Linked DNA regions of Homo sapiens: region 2 is linked to region 1. The links are contacts of gene promoters, found by promoter capture Hi-C in human tissues and cell types (Jung and others, 2019). All regions are on one chromosome and are shown on one strand. Each heading gives the region's core, a stretch centred on a gene start or on the middle of the fragment in contact. The rest is flanking DNA. Distances are from core to core; before and after follow the strand shown.

What was found. Contacts are between HindIII fragments. The study calls those that stand out against the background at their distance.
Region 2: a fragment that was not itself captured here is called in contact with the fragment with the promoter of CCDC15 in region 1 in 4 of the 25 tissues and cell types used here (dorsolateral prefrontal cortex, heart left ventricle, hippocampus and 1 more).

The regions. Positions count from the first base shown.
Region 1 is chr11:124,952,556-124,955,848 of GRCh38, forward strand. CCDC15 (coiled-coil domain containing 15) reads left to right here and starts at 1,647. Exons shown (of 16, transcript NM_025004.3): 1 at 1,647-1,815; 2 at 2,169-2,354. The coding sequence starts at 2,178. CCDC15-DT (CCDC15 divergent transcript) reads right to left here and starts at 1,436. Exons shown (of 3, transcript XR_948134.3): 1 at 927-1,436. RefSeq lists an enhancer at 1,307-1,850. The HindIII fragment of the contact is 10,363 bases long and covers 1-2,828 here.
Region 2 is chr11:125,465,995-125,469,287 of GRCh38, forward strand. The region is part of intron 3 of FEZ1 (fasciculation and elongation protein zeta 1); the gene reads right to left. Among named protein-coding and RNA genes, the nearest start is that of FEZ1, 29 kb to the right of the region's middle. The HindIII fragment of the contact is 4,328 bases long and covers 1-3,293 here.

The sequences.
Region 1 (3,293 bases), core at 397-2,896:
ATTCTTTTATCTGTCTATATTCAACCCCTTGATGACTCCATCCAGTCTCATGGCTTTAAATCTACAGGCTAACGACTCTTAGATTTATATTTGTAGCCCAGAACCCTTCTCTGAGCTCCAGACACTTTTTCTCATACTATCTTCTCGGATGTTGATTAGATAAAACTTTATCTGCCCCAAACTGAACTCCTGATCTTCCCCTTTCCAAATCTACTCCTTCCACCATCTTCACTATCTCAGTAAATAGTAATTTCATCCTGACAGCTGCTCAGGATGAAACCCCTAGTTTTCCTTGACATCTCTCCCTCACACAATCCATATCCAAACCTTCAACAGATCCTGAAAGTTTTGCCTCCCAAATAGATACAGAATCCAACCACTTATCATCATCTCCACCACTACCTCCTTGATCCAAGACATCACAATCCCTTAACTGAATTATTGCAATAGCCACCTAATTGGTCTTCTTTACAGTCTATTCTCACTACAGCATTCGGAATTATTATTTTTTTAATTTTGTCACATTATGGTGTTCCTTTGCTCCAAACCTTGCTCCAGTGGCTCCCCATCTCAACACCTATGGTGGCTTACGATGTTTGATCGGATTGCCTGCTTGACCTACTGTCTCAGCATTCTTCCACTCTCCCTCTGCTCCAGTCACACTATCCTCCTGACTTTTTCTCAACCAGGCAATGCTTCCACCTTGGGGCGTTTATACTTGCTGTTATATCTGGAACATGTTTATAAAGCCTCCGTTGAAGAGCACAGTGGCTTCTTCCATTAACTCATTTAAGTCTTTGCTGAAAAGTATCTCAGTGCAGCTTCTCTGGACGTTCTAATATTTCATCCCTCCAATCCCCACCCTGCCCACCACACTCCCTATCCGCTTTCTTTGCTTTTACTCCACATCACACACATTTACTTACTCATTGTTTATTCGCTTATTTCCCCTCACTCTATTGTGAATTCCCTGAGCAGGGATATTTGTTTCGTTCATAGCTATGTATCTCCGGTGCTTGGAACAGTACTGGTTTATAAAAAGTTAGTAGTAATGTATGTTAATCGAATGAATAAATTATCCTACAGAGATAATTGAGTGTCTCTGGATTACAGCAGAGCTTGCAGCAGAGAGGGAGACCACTCAACAGGCCGTGATGTCCAAATATAATAAGATGTATGAAACAGTACTGTAAAATTAGCTGCACAAAGGATCCGAAAAATTTGTTAGCTTAGTTTGTTTCTCCAGGAAGCCGTGCCAGGCTCGCCTCCCTCTTTCATTCTTTTCCCGTGATTCCCTCTACTGGGACTCCTGACCCTCCTAGTCGCCAGATCACAGGCCCAACGCATCCCTTTCCGGAGGGATTTAGGAAGTCTCGGCGTTGGTCCAGGAACGACAGTCCCACCGCGCCTCACATGGCGCATTACCCAGCGACTCCGCTTACCCACACGTCCCCGCCCCCTCAGCCGGACAGGAAGAGGAAATGACGATACCTCGGGCGCTCGAAACTCCACCTCTCACGCCTTCCCAGCTCCGGGAGGGGACGCGGGCTCCGGAAAGGGCGGGCATAAGGCTACGGATGGGCGGGACGGAGCAGCCCACCGCAAAGTGGCGGTCTACTTGAGGCGGTTACCTTAGTACTCCGAGTAGACTGAGTCTGTGGCGAGCTGCGGGCCGATTCCTGGCCAGTGCCATCTCAGCCGGAGCAGGCCTCGGGGCCTCAGAAGCAGGCTTTTATCTGGCCCGAGGCTCCCAGCCGTTCAGCGCGTCTTCCCATAACCTATACCGATTATTGGGACTCTCGGCTGCAGACACAGGTCCCCGCCCCTCCCTCTTTCTCCGGGTTGCAGCTGTCATTCCTCCCTTCCCGCCTCGCTGCGCCCACAGCTGAGGACAGTCTTCGTTCTCTCATTCCCATCCTTTCTCTTCCCTCTCATCGCCATTTCTTCTAGAAGGCAACTTAAAAACCTTTCTTTGCCTCTTTATTTCTTCCCATTTCTCTTCCCTTCTTTTCTTCCTTTTTCTCTAGAATCCGTGTGTTTCCACTTCATGCCAGGCTTCTGCCTCCAGGGCTTCTCTCCTTTTCACGGGCCTGTGGCTCATGTGTTAGGAGGTTGAACTTTTAATGCAGTCATTTGAAGATTTTAAGCTTTTTCTTTCTCCTAATCAGGAGTCACAGATGCTGGGAAGTATGGCCCGAAAGAAACCTCGAAATACCTCAAGGTTGCCCCTGGCTTTAAACCCCCTGAAGAGCAAGGACGTGTTGGCAGTGCTGGCTGAGAGGAACGAGGCTATAGTACCAGTTGGGGCATGGGTGGAACCTGCCTCACCAGGTAGTTCGGAAATCCCAGCATATGTGAGTGTCAGTTTGATCCAAATATGGTGGGGTTCCCCACCACCCTTTTTATTAGCCTTCTCTAATCCTGGGTGCTTAAAGATGAACAGTCCGAGGATGCTGTTTCTATTCTGCCATAAATAGTTTATGCTCTTGCATTAGGATTATAGAACAAGTATTTGCCAAAACTTGACTGCAGCTTTAGTTGGCATAATCAAATATTTATTACTCACCTACTATAATATATAGAGCATAATCTACATGGAACAGGTTATATAGATATATATCTGTATATCAGTTTACTTCAGACTCTTGATTGCTTGTTATGCCCAAGACATAAGCACTATCTACATCTTCCAGACACTGCAACTTAGTATGGATGATAGTTGGCATACTTCAAGTAACATTAATTGGTTGCTTAAGGTTTATGATAAATTTTGTAATGAGGATTCAGGCAAAATGGAGTAATAGAATAAAGGAGAAAGAGATGAACTCTGATAATCTGAGAAAGTCTAACTAGAAATTCCATGGTTTCTGATAGTCTTTCACCAAACTGTGCCCCTTAGCTATTTGTTCAAATTTAACTTGGCACTTACCACATTGTGTTATAGTAGATTGTTTATATATCTTTTCCTGATGCAGTGTGAGCTCCTTGAGCGTAGAGAACAAATGTCATTTATCATCACATTCCCACTTTTATCTTAAATACTGCCTAATCAATATAGACACTCATGAAGTATTTATGAAAGGCACAAAATGTCTTCTGTATGTGTAGACAAGGTGCTGAACATGGATGAAAAAAGGATGAGATATGTTCCCTCAGTGTACTTGATCTCAGAAGAGAAATGAGATGTGTTTAAATGTTAAAGTAATGCAATATACTATATTCATTTTATTTATGTTTGCACATATGTATGTATATTCATTGATTTATTCCTACCCTGCCTATTTCCAAAAAGG
Region 2 (3,293 bases), core at 396-2,895, 510 kb after region 1:
AGAGGAAGAAAGAAAGGTTTTTGAAAAATGACAGCCCTTGTGCATATAAATACTCTTAATCCTAGCATAAGACACTGACATAGATATCACGGTAGAGAGTTCCTTTAGCCCCTTGTGCAGCAGTGGGGAAGATACATGTCAAAAATAACTTCAGGCCAGGTCATTTAGGGCTGAATTTCTTTGTCAGCTAAAACTGCTAGTTGTTACCAGATGTGGTGGCTTACACCTGTAATCCCAGCACTTTGGGAGGCCGAGATGAGAGGATTGCTTGAGTCCAGGAGTTCGAGACCAACCTGGGCAACATGGCAAGACTCCGTCTCTAAAAAAATAGAAAAATTAGTCAGGCATGATGGCACACCTGTAGTCCCAACTACTCAGGAGGCTGAGGTGGGAGGATCAATTGAGCCATGGAGATGGAGGCTGCAGTGAGGCTGCAGTGAGCCGTGATTATGCCACTGCACTCCAGCCTGGATGACAAAGTGAGATCCTGTCTAAAAAAAAAAACACCTTGCTAGCTGTTTGGATACTATTGACGTGAACTATGCTTTTCCAAGAAAAGTCATTCTTCCAAATGATTTATTCCCAGAATTGAGAAGATTTGAATCCAGAAAGGGGTCTGGCTATACCATTCAGCAAGCTGTTTCTTCCTCCTGCTTTTGGGAAGAGTGTGTCTCTAGGACTATAACATGAAAGCTTGAAACTTGAAAAGAAATGCAGAAAACTTTCCCCAAGGCCTATAACATTGCTAAATCTTGCTGCACAGTGAAGTATTCTGAATGATGATTAAAATTATGTGGAGCCCTTGATTCCAATAATGACTATTAACCAGTGTATTTTATTAAAGTGTTTCAAATGACCCCATTCATAGAAAAGGTAATTTTTACAGCATATTTAGCCCTTTGCATAATATTTTCCTCCCCTTACCACTATTGTTTGACATGAGTGGTTGCCCCCCTGACAAAAATTAAGAGAACAAAGATACATTTTTACCTTCAGACAAAAAGTAAAAAAAAAAAAAGAAATTCACAACAACTGTGTCCCATTTTTTTTTTTTTTAGACACAGGATCTCGCTGTGTCACACAAGCTGGAATGCAGTGGCACAATCATGGCTCAATGCAGCCTCTAACTCCTTTGCTCGAGTGATCCTCCTGCCTCAGCCTCCCAAGTAGCTGGGACTACAGGCAGGTGCCACCACACCTGACTAAGATTTTTTTTGTTTTGAATTTTTTTAGAGATAGGGGTCTCACTGTGTTGCCCAGGCTGGTCTCAAACTCCTGGCCTCAAGCAATCCTCCCACCTCAGCCTCCCGAGTGGGATTACAGGTGTGAGCCACTGTGCCTGGTAACTATGTCCCTTTTATGCTTATGAACAACCAGGAAACATCTGCGTGGATTAAGTCAATGGCTGTGCATTCCCATAGGGAGATGCACTAGGGCATGCAGCCAACACATATTTGTTGAAAGAATTAATGAACAATTGAAAAAGAGAGGACTGAGAGCAGTACTATCATCTAGATTCAGTCCACTTCCACAGGTAACTTAGCTATTTAGTCACCTGGAAAAGAGGAAGATGTGACTGGGCATGGTGTCTCATGCCTGTAATTCCAGCAATTTGGGAGGCCAGGGTGGGAGGGTCACTTGAGCCCAGCCTGGGCAACATAGTGAAACTCTGTCTCTACAAAAAAAATGAACAAAATTAGCCAGGCATGGTGGTGCACACCTGTAGTCCCAGCTACTCAGGAGATGGAGGTGGGAGGATTGCTTGAGCCAGGGAGGTGGAGGCTGTAGTGAGCCATGACTGTTGCCACTGTACTCTAGCCTGGGTGACATAGTGAGATCCTGTCTCAAAAATATGAAAGACATAATTCACTATCCTGGACTTCCAATTTCCTCTTATCCAGACAACCACTATCTGCTATTAAATAAAGGTTATAAGGTAAAAGGAGACTGTGTTTTACATCACAGGAATAGAATAGATTGATGAATCGAAAGCCCCAGTAAAAGTGGTAAATTGTGAAAAAAATAATAATGCCTCCTACAGACATATTAACTCAAGCAAATTATTTTGACCTAAAAATGTAAATGTACATTTATTTATTCACCAAGTTCCTAGTGTAGGACCAAGCTTACAATGAAACTCTGAGTAGAGTTCCACAGTCTCTCTTGCATCATCCACATAATAACTTTTTTTTTTCTTTTTTTAAACAGAGTCTCACAATATCACCCAGGCTGGAGTCCAATGACATGATCAAAGTCCACTGCAGCCTCCCTTTCCTGGGATCAGGCAATTCTTCCACCTCAGCCTCCCAAGTAGCTAGGAACATAGGTGCACACCACCACTCATGGCAAACTTTTTCATTTTTTTGTAAAGATTGAGTCCAATACTCCCTCTTTATCTTTACCCAGGCTGGCTTCTAACTCCTAGGCTCAAGTGATCTTCCTACTTCAGCCTCCCAAAGTGCTGTGCTTACAGGTGTGAGCCACCACACCCAGCCCATAACATAATTTTTAAAATGATTTCCTGTTTCCATTTCTTTATAGTAGAAGGTGGGTACACAGGAGATTGGGCACAAATTTATCAGCCCTTCCTCCTCAAACCCTACTAAAATGAGAGTCAAGGGATCAAAAAAGAATAACCCAAAAGGGACAAAGTGAACAGGAGAAAAGGCAACAGCAAGAGAAATGCCAGAAAACAGACGCCGGCCCAGCAGGCTCAGCAGGGTTAAACTTGGCGAGAGCAGGCTGCCCAAGGTAAAGGGGGTCACACAGCAGATACTGAATGGCTCAGGAATTGCAGACCCCGAGGGGCAGCATGGCGGGGCTATGTAAGGAAGATTTGCTGGTATTCTTCATCAAGAATAATGAGACCCAAGTGTCTTCTTCCAACCCAGATAAAAAGGGACTGCATCCTCTCAGCTCAAAAGGACTGTAGACTTCACTCTGAGCAGGTTGAACTGGAGGTTCTGGACTCAGAGCACCAGGCCACCTAAAAGTGAGGGTGAGGGTTCTCACCAAAAACAGAGAGAGGATGTAAGACTCTACAGAATGACTCACCAGACAGACCTCTGGCCTCCTTCCCTGAGTAGGCTCCAAGGACACTGGCAGCTGGTTTATTCTGTCCATCAAGCCATTGGAGAACACCTCTCTATGGATGCTATAAGTCTACAAATACATGCCAACTGTCAAGATCTCCGAACAAGACGCATAGGTCCTTACTGGCACTGTGATCCAGCAGGAAACAAGCCCTGACCCCATAGCCTTCTAGGGCCTCACTTTCTTTTTTTCCAAGGGTT